Linked DNA regions of Homo sapiens: all the other regions are linked to region 1. The links are contacts of gene promoters, found by promoter capture Hi-C in blood cells and fetal thymus (Javierre and others, 2016). All regions are on one chromosome and are shown on one strand. The core of a region is centred on a gene start or on the middle of the fragment in contact, and the rest is flanking DNA. Distances in the headings are between cores, read along the strand shown. Region 1 holds the start of LINC01949 (long intergenic non-protein coding RNA 1949). Region 2 overlaps LOC101929380 (a long non-coding RNA gene). Region 3 overlaps RASA1 (RAS p21 protein activator 1).

Region 1 (3,988 bases), core at 555-3,054:
CCCTCATAAATAGGATTAGTGCTCTTGTAAAAAGTACTCCAGAGAGCCATCTTGTTTTTCTGCCATGTGAGGACATAGTGAGAAGATGGTGGTCTATAAACTAGAAAGTGGGCTCTCTTTGACTGGGACTGCTCAGCCTCCAGAAACTATGAGAAATAAATGTTGTTTAAGCCACTCAGTCTATGGTATTTTTTTATACAGCCAGAATGGACTAAGACACTGTAACTTATCTCTTAATTGTATTTTGGTGTCTTTTACGGAACACATGTTTTATTTAATGTTATAAAAAAAATGCATTTTGTCGTTTATGCCATTGCATCTAGCTTAAGAAAGCTTTCCTTACTGGAAGTCATAAATTCTCCTATCTTTTTCTAAAAGTCTTAAAGTTTTGCTCTTTGTATTTAAGTTTCTTTCATCTGAAGTATATTCCATGTAAATAGAGTGAGGCAGAGATCTTTCTGACTTTTTCCCATGTGACTAACCAATTATCCCGGCATTATTTGTTATTTTTTTATTTTACTCCTGAATTTTAATGTCACACTTGTCATACACCAAGTTATCAAATATGTGAATCTGTTCTGAGTTTTGTTTTGTTGGTCTATTAATTTTATTTCTGACACAATAATACAGTTGTATAATTACAACATTAGAATATCAATATCTGGTAAAGTAATATCAGTGAAACTGATTTATGAATTGCATGTAAAAATTTTAAGGCCACCATGTCAATGTAATTAGCACTGGCCTACAGATAACCTATTGATTTGACCACTTTGCTCTTGTATGTAGAAACTTTGCTTAACTCTCCTATTCCAGTTCTTCAGCTGTACAATTATTGGATTTTCTATAAAAAAAAATATTCAAATAATCAATATTTGATCTTCCCTAATCCATATAACTGGTTATTTCTTTCTTATTTCATTGGTTAGGAACTCCAGAGCAATGATGATTATTGGTGGAGATAATAAGTATTAATGCTTGTTCCTAATGTTAATGGGAATTTTATAACTCTCATACATTATTTCTAGGATAAATCATATTTGATCATAATGCATTTTTTAAAATGCTTGATTCAATTTGTCAACATCTTATGATACTTGCATGTACTCATAAGGAAGATTAACCTATAATTTTTCTTTCTCTTATTTTTCTAGTTCAGCTAACTAGAATATATTAACTTCATGAGAGAAACTACAGAATTTTCCTCTTTTTCTGTATTTTGTAGCATTTTGTGCTAAAGAGATTTTTCTGTGCTTTGAATGTTTGTTGGTAATCCCTGTGTAAAATTTTCTAGACTTACTGTTATTTATTTTGGGTAGGTTTTTGCTTACTAATTCAATTTTTCCAAAGGCTTTCTCCTCAGACATAGATTTACTCTTGAGTCAATTTTGGTAATTTAAATTTTTAGTGATGCCCACCTGCAAAGGGCCAGGTCTGGCATACAGTTTGAAATTTGCTGCCAGAGTCCCATTTTGCAATCCCGAACTTCTGGTGGAGACTGGGGTGTCCATGGCCCACTACCCAGTGGCGAGTAAACTCTTTGCTCCCAGACTGTTGCAAGAAGCTTAAAGGATGGCCTCCAGATCTGGAACAATTATGTTCTCATATTAATAAAAAGATTAACAATATTTTTAAAAATCTGTCATTGAGAAACTGGCCAAGAACCTACCTTGAAGAATATCTTAATAGGAGATGAGATCACTGTAAGAAATGAACTTCTAAATAAATTTGAATAGGAAATTCAGTATTAAGAACAAACCAACAATTCACTCAAGGAACTCTGTAAATCTCTTGAAGAATATTATAAAATGTGGAATATCTCAAAGAAAACTTTCCTTCCCATGTGCCTCAAATAACAGGTCTCAAACTCCTAGCCTCAATCAGTCCTCCCACCTCAGCCTCCCAAAGTGCTGGGATTACAGGTGTGAGCCACTGTCCCCAGCCATAATTTATTTATATTTTATTTCTTTAGCTTTTTCATCTTCTATCCTGTTTCATATAAAATTCAAACTTTTTTGGATAAATTTTTTAATCAAATGCTTCCGTTTAAGTTAGTTTTAGCATTTATTTTTATAAAATTTTAGCATGTAATTTTAAAATAATTTTTTATATTTTAAGATCATACCTGTCCATGTGACTCCAATTCAGCTGTAAAAGATCTGAGAAATATTTGATCTGTTGTCCAGGAAGAAAAGGAGAGGAGGAACATTCTTCTATCATTTCACTCTTACCTGTATATGAAGAATATACTTACCTCCCCCGAAGGAGGACAATCTGAAGTCCCTTCTAGTTAGTGCATTCAGCTCAAAGCCCAAGACATTCAAGAAATGTGTCATCTTCTCCAATACGTGAATGTTTGAATTCTCCTGAAATAAAATCCCATGAACTGAAGAAATATCCTGTCTTTACCACCACTCCCATATACACCTACATGTGAGGGTGCATGCATGCACATGAACACACACACATCTAATATACAAAATGAATCAAGGACAGAAGTAGCTATAATAGGAATCTGATTAGTAAGGGTAGGAATGGAAGGCAAGCAACAGTAACCAGTGCATATAGATCTTAAACAACAGATCGCCAAACACACTGCAGAATGATAAGAGGGTCTGAAATGTAATACATCAAGTGTTAATGTGCCAGACCTAGAAGTGGCAAATGTCACTTGGACATATTCCACTGGCTAAAACTCAGTTACATAGGCCCAGTAAAATGATAAAAAGCCTATGTAAGTTTTGGTTGTATGCCAAAAAAGAAGAGGACAAAATGGATATTGATGTGCACTAACAGTCTGTGTCATCATGGTGACATGATCCTTCTATCATGAAGTAATCAACCTCTTTAGAGAAAAATCATTATTAGACTTAAAGTTGTTTTCTAATATCAATATTACTGTCAGATCTATTTTGGTCCGGTTCCTGGTGTACAGTTTTTCAACCTATGACAGTAAGTTCTCAACGTTGTTGATAGGGTCTTGGAAACTTCAACTTCAAGTGAGATGCCATGTAACAAAACCAGTTTTACTATAGGCTAATTAATATAAACAAGAATTAGTTCCTATGGCATATTTGTATCACAAAAACATCAACAAATTTCTAAGTGAAGACTTGAAACACTTCTAATGTTGAATATTGATATAAATGTAAGCTATACATACATTTAAGAAAAATCAACAAAAATAAGTAAGCAATTTGTCCAATTTTTGGTGAATCAGTGAGTGACAGCCGTCATCCTGGTGGTAGGTTAAATCAAGAAATAAATGTTTGTAAAGTGAAAATTGTCAGGAGTACCTCCTACCAACACACAGTTCAAAAACAAACAATATTCAATAAGGCAGACTCTCTAAGCACTTTCATACAACATTTCTTATTATTTTGCATTTGTATGATTATCAAATACTTTATATTTTATCTTATAATAATTTGTATTCATTTATTCTTTCATTTTCCAACCCACTTACTCCAGTTCAGGTTACAGGAGGCCAAAGCCCATTCAGCAGTTCAGGATACAAGGTGGGAAGCAACCCTGGCCATGACACCATCCCAACACAGGGCACACTCATACATATACCCACACTCACCTTGACTGAGATCGCTGACACATGCCCACCCACCTGAAATACACATCTTCAGGATGTGGGAAGAAACTGGAGTACCTGGAGAAAATCCACACAGACATGGGGAAAAGGTGCAAATTTCACAAAGACATTAGCCTCAACCATGAATTAATTTTTTTTCCCATCAACATTATAACAAAGTAACATTATCTGAGCACCTGATATAATTTCAGTCTTTTGAGATTATTACTATTATGAGACAAAATCTCACTTTGTAGCCCTGGGTAGAATGTAGTGGTGCAACCTCGGCTCACCGCAACTTTCATCTCTGGGTTCAAGTGATTCTCATGCCTCAGCCTCCAGAGTAGCTGGGATTACAGGTGTGTGCCACCATGCTTGGCCAATTTTTGTATTTTTAGTAGAGAT
Region 2 (3,988 bases), core at 855-3,354, 57 kb before region 1:
GGTGGCGCGCGCCTGTGGTCCCAGCTACTCGGGATGCTGAGGCAGAAAAACCGCTTGAACCTGGGAGGTGGAGGTTGCAGTGAGCCATGATCGCGTCACTGCACTCCAGCCTGGGCAACAACCTGGGTAACAGCCTGGGCAAAAAAAAGTTAGAGACAACCTAAACATCTATAAACATAAGATGAATCAAAACATTGTGTTATATTCAAACAAAAAACTGAAATAAAGCAATGAAAATAATGTTGAGTGAAAATGTAAATTTTCACAACAGTATATAAAATTTCAAAACATGGCAACACTAAATTTTGCTTTGAGACACATATATATGTAGTAAACATATAAAAATGTAAATGGGAATGATAAACACAAATTCAGGATTCAGAAGGAAAAGCAAGGGAATGGGATTGGGAGATATAATTAGGGGTCCAATTATGTTTACCATGTTCTGCTTCTTAAGCTAAATTATAATAAGTACATACATTTTCATTTTCATTTTCTCTGTATAGTTCTTATATGTCTGAAATAGCTCAGGAAAAAAGAGATTAAGGGGAGGAGAAACAAACCTTTTGAAATCAGGACAAAACTTAATTCCAACTTCATCTCTGCAACATACTCACTGTGGAAACTTGAACAGATTACTTAGCTTCCCTGAACCTCAGTTTCCTCATCCATAAAATAAGGACAATAGTATACATATATATATATATTTTCTGAGATGGAGTCTCACTCTGTCACCCAGGCTGGAGTGCAGTGGCGTGATCTCGGCTCACTGCAACCTCCGCCTCCAGGGTTCAAGCGATTCTCATGCCTCAGCCTCCCCAGTAGTTGGGATTACAGGTGTCCACCACCACGCCCAACTAATTTTTGTATTTTTAGTAGAGACAGAGTTTCACCATGTTGGCCAGGCTGGTCTCAAACTCCTGACCTCAGGTGATCCACTCACCTCGGCCTCCCAAAGTGCTGGTATTACAGGCGTGAACCACAGTGCCCAGCCAAAATAAGGATAATAAGTATTATACCAACTTCCTGAAACAGTGCCTCAGCATTCAGCAAAATAACTAGCATGTGGTATTCACCTAATATACTTGATATTTTTCCTGAATTATTTCAATAAAGTCAATATTAATGTCTGTACATATGCATTTCCAATGTGTGTGTGTGTGTATTGTGTGTGTGTGTGTATGGTGTGTGTGTGTATGTGTGTATGGTGTGTGTGTATGTGTGTGTGTGCGTGGAATATATGTATATATATATTCCACACAAACTGATATATATATATATCAGTTTCTTGGAAGCGCACAGCTGCGCTCGTGTTCTTATGACTCCAGCATCCTTTTTTTACATGTAACCTTTTAATTTTGCACTTCCTGTTATAATTTTAAACATAGAATGAACAATTTCTAGACAATCAATAGAACAGCTGCTAGGGGGAAAAATAGAAATGAAATGGCTAAATGATTGAAGGCTGACACTTAAAAGAATAGTTTTACAGTGAACAGCTGTGTATCCCAGAAATAAAATATGTGATAAATACATGTTAACAAAGAGCAAAAACTGCTGTCTGATATTGAAAATTCATGGCTACAGAGCTGAAAACTGTTGGAAATAATGACAAGATTCCAGTGTTGTTAATGTTTCAAATGGGTTATAGTTACAAGAAACAGAGAAAATAATAATAAACCCCCTTACAGAGTATAAATTTTGTGGCATAAATGAACAGTATGAAAATATTTTAGATATTTTAAGCTTTTAAAACATGTTTTGAATATTGAACAATAAATGTAGGTCACTGTAAATGGCAGTGCTCTCCTTTGTCTCTAGCAATTTGTCTCTGTTCTTGTGCTCTGCTCTTGGTCTATGAGCAGACATCACACTCTGCATCCATTTTACACACACACACACACACACACAACCATCTTTTTGTCTCTTGTCCTTTAAATGGCATAGTCCTTATATCTTCTCTGTGTTACGGGAAAGCTGTGGAATCAGAAAGCCTGAGTACCCTTCTGTGAGGTCACATTTGTTGCACAGGAGTTTTTGCCTCTCTGAGCTTTGGTTTTCTTATTGTAAAATAGGGATTAAAATGAGCTAACATATAACACAGGGCTCTGAAAAAACCTCTGAAGCATCACCCTAAACCAAATTATTATTAATGTAAGAAAACACAGTGCACTTGGTAGTAAAAGGATTCGTTTCTAGGTAGTTTTTCTCCCAGGAAACGAAACAAACCTTTAGTCTATATTGCTTCCTGTATCTGTACCTACTAGCTACAGGAAAAGCAGACGTATATAAATCTCTCTATTGCATTCCTTAGCTGATGTGTACTTCTCGTACATATGGATTGCATAAGCCTTCATTTATTCATTTAACAAATGCTAATTGAGTACCCTTTGTACCTTTCACATGTCAGACACTGTACTAGTTATTTTGGGCACATTAGGAAAAAAAAATCCTTGCCCTTTTGAAGCTTAGTGTTCCTTCTGGGAATAGAAGGAGGGTGATGGAAGGAAGCAAGAGATCATAAATAATAAATAATGAAAATAACTGAAATGTGCCATGTATTAGAAGATCATAAGTGCTATGGGAAAAAAAGGAGTACATCAGAGTAAAGGGGATGAGGAGGGTTTGGGGGAAGGGATCATCAGCTGGAGTGGAAGGAGACTGGCTGCATCATCTAATGGGAAGGTCTCAATGGGAAAATGACTTTTGAGCAAAGACTTGAAGGGTGAGGGAGTTGCTCACAAGAATATCTGGGGAAGAGCAGTCCCTGAAAGGAAAAAAACAGTCCCAAAGCCCCAGGGTGAAGCTTTCCTGGCATGTTTGAGAATAACAAAAGGGTGCTGATGTTGAGATGAGTAAGTCAGAGATTATCAGGAGAGGAGGTCAGAAAATAATATCCTGCCTAAAATTTTTGACTCTTACCAAAAATTTCCAGGGTAAACCTCTTTGTTCTGTATATTCGAAAAGCAAGAAGCCTTCCATTTTTTTTCCATTGCCTAGAATTGCTTCAATGAATACTTGACCATTTCTCAGGTGTCATACCTCATTGGTAGAATAACACACTTGGTATCCTGCCCTTTCACTATTCACCTTCATCCCTTTCCCTCTTTTATCACTATAATTGGCTTTCAAAAGCAGGAGCACCTCTTAGCCACAAATTTGTGTTAAAAGCTGTGTTTTTATCCTTCCTCTCCATCAAAGTCTCTCTAAATTGTCAGTTCACAAGAAAACCCTCTCTTTCCCTTTGTGTCCTTCATCCAGCTGCCCCAAAGAAAACAACCATTAGCAAGAAAGAAAAGTCAGTGGGTCCCTATTCCTATTGCACTACAAGGGGAGAACACGATGAACCCGAGTGACAGATCATATAATTTACAAATTGAGTCCATCTCCCCATGTTAAAGTTAAAGAAATGGAGACCCAAAGATGTTCACTGCTTTTCTTTCATCACAAGAAATCATGATGTATTGTAACCCCAATTTCCATTCATTCCTACTGCCTTCTGTTATCCCAACAAGAAAGGAAATCTTGCAACACTACTCTCTAAGACAGAAGAGGAACTGTGCTCTCCTACATCAAATTTTCTTTCTCAGTTCAGACTCTGCTTCAGTGGTTTAAATTTATATTTATCAGACAGTGCTATTTAGCACGTTGCCAGGTTTATACCAGAAAGGGTTTAGATCTTTGTGAAGAAATTTAATAAAATATAAACTCTGTCAAGATTTTAAAAAATTCAGAATATCTGATCTTTAGAACAAGATTTTTGGACAGTTATAATTGTTTTCTAACACCTTCTGGAATACATTATTATACTATGTTATAGCACATTTGAGTAATAACTTTTTCGTTCACTTTATCCAAATCCTAACATCATACAGATCTAGAATTAAATTATCTTGTTCAGGCTTCTACTTCTAAGCAGCTAAATGTCAAAATAACTTTAAAATGTTTTAAGAAGAATGAACATAGAGAAAACAACATCCGTCCAGTA
Region 3 (3,988 bases), core at 824-3,323, 37 kb after region 1:
TCTACAAAAATAAAATCATTCTTATTAAGTCAAATAATTGGTGAAGGTTAATGTTAGAACATGTAGCATTCATTAACTTTGTCACTGATTGCATTATACATATGGGTGAGCCATTGTTTCTTAATAAAAATGGGGGTGAGACTTGCTAAGATTAGTTACGGACAATGATTGATGACCAGAACTCATATTTTTTACTGTATTTGTATAAGTAGCAGAGAAATATAGTAGGTGCTTCAAGGGTTGCAAGAGTAAAATGCCCCTTTTCTCAATGGGAGAAAAGGGAGTATTAGATCTAGTAGGAAATTAAGTAAACCAATTACTGTGATTCAGGCTAGGTTAAGATAAATATCACGAGTGAAGTATGAGCAAAGGTCATGAGGGTTAAAAGAAAAAGAAATTTGTGTAATTAGGATCAGTAAATTCTTTGAGGAAAAATAGCAGGTATGTTTTTCCTGCTACTTAATTTATTTTCTGAGCAAGAGGTTATTGGTTCTGATGCTCTTCGCTTAATGATTCTATCAGGAAAACATAATTATGAATTAGATGAGTTTAAACTTTTCACCCTTAGTGAAGAGTCTGGTCTACAGAACTTTTAGTTACCTGTGGTCTGGAGGGAAGTTGACGGTGATGTCTGTAGTGACTGAGGTACAGAGCACAGTTGAATGCTAGAATCGGTATGGATCATTGATTAGCCACTCTGGGGAAAACAGGCAAACATTACTGGCAAAGCTAAAAAGGACAGCCATAAATTAGGAAGGGAAAAGGAAAAACGAAGAGTAGACTTTCTGGTTGCTTTACTTCTCTCTCTTTACTGGCCATTGGTGAAATGAACAGAGTCCCTTTAAGAACACTTAAATACCCAGAAAAGTACCTTTTGGGAAGAAGATTTTTTATAGTGATTATTAACTATAACAATGGTTACCACTGACATTTTTTGTTGTTGTTGCTTACTGCCAAACAGGAACAGTTCTAATTGGTTTATTTGTATTGTTTTGGTTATCTATTGCTGCATAATAAAGCACTCCAAAACATAGTGGCTAAAACAATTGTGTATTTGCCCTTGATTCTAAAATTTGTGTATGGCTTTATGGTGACTTCTCCACATGTGATCTGTTGGCTATAATGTCCACTGTGGCTTCTTAACTCATAAATCTAGTGCCTCAACTGGGATGGCTGGAGCAGCTGGTAGATGGCTGGGCATTTCCCTCTCTCTTCCTACCCATGTCGTCTCTCCACTTGAAGAAGGTTGGCCTTCTTTTTTTTTTTCCCCCCTGAGATGGAGTCTTGCCCTGTCGCCCAGGCTGGAGTGCAGTGGTATGGCTCACTGCAACCTCCGCCTTCCGGGTTCAAGCATTTCTCCTGTCTCAGCCTCCCAAGTAGCTGGCATTACAGGTGCGTGCCACCACGTCCAGCTAATTTTTGTATTTTTCATGGAGATGGGGTTTCACCATGTTGGCCAGGCTGGTCTCGAACTCCTGACCTCGTGATCTGCCACCTTGGCCTCCCAAAGTGCTGCGATTACAGGCATGAGCCACTGTGCCCAGCCAGCTTGGCCTTCTTCATAGCATGGCAGCTATGGCAGTTCCGTGAAAGACCTTTCCAAGCCCTAGTGTGCCGGTATTTATCAAGCTTCTGTGTTCCTCATCCTTGCTAATGTTCCAATGGTGAGTGCTGGTCACATAACCCAGTGTGCATTAAATATGGGAGGGGACTATAAAATGGCATGAATACAGCAAGTTGAGCTTTCCTCAGGGCATCAAAGTAACAGTACCATGTGTATTACTTATTTTCATGTAATACGAGATAATAGAATACTAGTAGTGAGGGACAGGCTGGGAGATAGGACAAATACTTATGAGTTCTTCCTTCAGGCCCAGCAAGCTAAGTTGTCTTTTGTTAAATGAGTCAAATTTCTCCACAATAGATGTTGCTTTTTGGCTACCATTACCTTAATTTTAAACCAAAAATACTGAATACGGATGTTGTTTATTGTTTGAATATGCAGGTATTTCTGTGTTACCTTGAAATCACTGGCAGTACATTTCAGTTTTGTGCTGCGTTAAAAATTGTTGTTATTAGATACAACTTATTGATAACTATGTATGTCTTGTCACATCTCTACAGGATTTAGGGTATGATGATTTTAGGTGTTTTAGTGGTTATGTGATTTAGTGAGTAAAATAATGAACAGTATGGGGGACAAAAAGAAATATACAATTCTACAGTCTAGTTGGAAGATGAGGCATTACTGGTAGGGAAATAAGATGATAAAAGTAGTCTACAGATACGTTGTGCAGGTAAATTTTTCAAATTCAGAGGATAGTTGCCAAAGAGTGAAAGAATGAAAGTAAATGAAAGAATGATACTGAAATTTCATACCATAATTCTCTTGAAGGAAATTTCAGTATCATTCATTTAGGATTATTACAGTGAGAAAGTGTGATTAACTTTTGTAACATTTGTGTTTCAAATTGTAGTCAAGTTGTTATGTGTAACATAGAGTTTTAGTTACAGAGGGAAGCTTCTCTGCTTAGATACAGAAGTAGCCTTAGGTAGAGTGACTTGCTTCACTCCACCCTACACCCTAGCTAAGTTCATATAACTAGGTAGTGGTAGAACTGGGACAGAATCCGATTCTCATACTGTTTCACATATATTTAGATTTGAGTAATATTTATAATTCATTTTTTTTTAAATTTTAGAGAGGACTAGAAGCAAAGGCTCAGTATTTGCTAATCATTTGCTAGATGTCAGGTACTTTATATAGATTATCTTATTTAATTCTTACAATGATATAGTGAGAATGGGCATCATCCTCATTGTTGAGGAAACTGAGTGATAGAGCTGGAATTTTAATGTAAATACTATGCTTTTTATTTTGTCTTGCCCCTTTCCATTACGTAGAATGTACACACATATATGCACCCAGATAAAACTTAACGTACTTCAGGGCTGGCAGTAACTGGCATTTTGGACTTAATAGTTCCCCCCTGTCCCCCATAGTCATAGGTTGAAGCCTTAACCACCAATGTAACTGAATTTGGAGATACAGCCTTTAAAAGAGGTAATTAAGGTTAAATGAGGTCATAAGGGTGGCTGGTGAATCCTATAGGACGGGTACCTTTATAAGAAGAGGTACCAGGAGTATGAGTGCATCAAGAAAAGGTCATGTGAGGACATGGTGAGGAGGCCTTCATTTGTCAGCTAAGGAGAGAGGCCTGACCAGAAACCAAGCTTGCCAGCACTTTGATAGTTCAATTTCCAGCATGCAGAACTGTGAAAAAATAATTTCTGTTGTTTAAGCCACCCAGACTCTGGTATTTCGTCATAGCAGCCCAAACTGACTAATACATGGGTAACTCTACATCTTTAAAAATGGATTTGGATTATTTTGGAACAGATTAAATGCATGTCTGCTGCTTGAGAAATAAGGTCCTCATTCTTTTAATTTCTTTCACTGTGGGAGAGAAAATCTTGCCTTACTTTACCTCTTTCTTTGTTAGTCAGTGACCTTTATCTTTTTTGATTGTACCTCTGTTGAAAGATGGAAAGCATATTTAAATGCATGTCTGATTATTATAGTGTGGAAAGATCCTACACATGACCATGGTAGCCATGGAATATCCTATGGATAAGCTGTTACTCCAGCAAATTTTCTGTATTCAATGTGTGTTCATTGTTGTAACATTTTACTTTAAAAATTTCGCTAATACATCTGTCTCAAGCTAAGGGAAAGACTTAGAGATCTCCCTCACCTCTTTTAAGTGTTTTTTGTAGGAATAACTTGCTAAACTGGGTTCATATTAGACACTTGTGTAACGATAGACCGTATCTCACCTATATTCTTTTCTATCTAAATGTTGATTCATTTCTCTAATTTTTAAATCTTTTTATTTTGAGGTAATTGTAGATTCATATGCAGTTTTAAGAAATAAGACAGATGGGCCGGGCGCAGTGGCTCACTCCTGTAATCCCAGCACTTTGGGAG

What was found. The method cuts DNA at HindIII sites, captures the fragments that hold promoters and counts their contacts. A CHiCAGO score of 5 or more calls a contact.
Region 2: a fragment that was not itself captured here is called in contact with the fragment with the promoter of LINC01949 in region 1 in 3 of 17 cell types (M0 macrophages, M2 macrophages and M1 macrophages); the score reaches 9.7 in M0 macrophages.
Region 3: a fragment that was not itself captured here is called in contact with the fragment with the promoter of LINC01949 in region 1 in 1 of 17 cell types (M0 macrophages); the score reaches 6.6 in M0 macrophages.

What each region holds. Positions count from the first base shown.
Region 1 is chr5:87,237,397-87,241,384 of GRCh38, forward strand. LINC01949 (long intergenic non-protein coding RNA 1949) reads right to left here and starts at 1,805. Exons shown (of 3, transcript NR_130914.1): 1 at 1,670-1,805; 2 at 1,419-1,585. All of the region lies in intron 2 of LOC101929380 (a long non-coding RNA gene), which reads left to right. The HindIII fragment of the contact is 4,009 bases long and covers 1,563-3,988 here.
Region 2 is chr5:87,180,569-87,184,556 of GRCh38, forward strand. All of the region lies in intron 2 of LOC101929380 (a long non-coding RNA gene), which reads left to right. Among named protein-coding and RNA genes, the nearest start is that of LINC01949, 57 kb to the right of the region's middle. The HindIII fragment of the contact is 721 bases long and covers 1,745-2,465 here.
Region 3 is chr5:87,274,322-87,278,309 of GRCh38, forward strand. All of the region lies in intron 1 of RASA1 (RAS p21 protein activator 1), which reads left to right. Among named protein-coding and RNA genes, the nearest start is that of RASA1, 8.4 kb to the left of the region's middle. The HindIII fragment of the contact is 892 bases long and covers 1,628-2,519 here.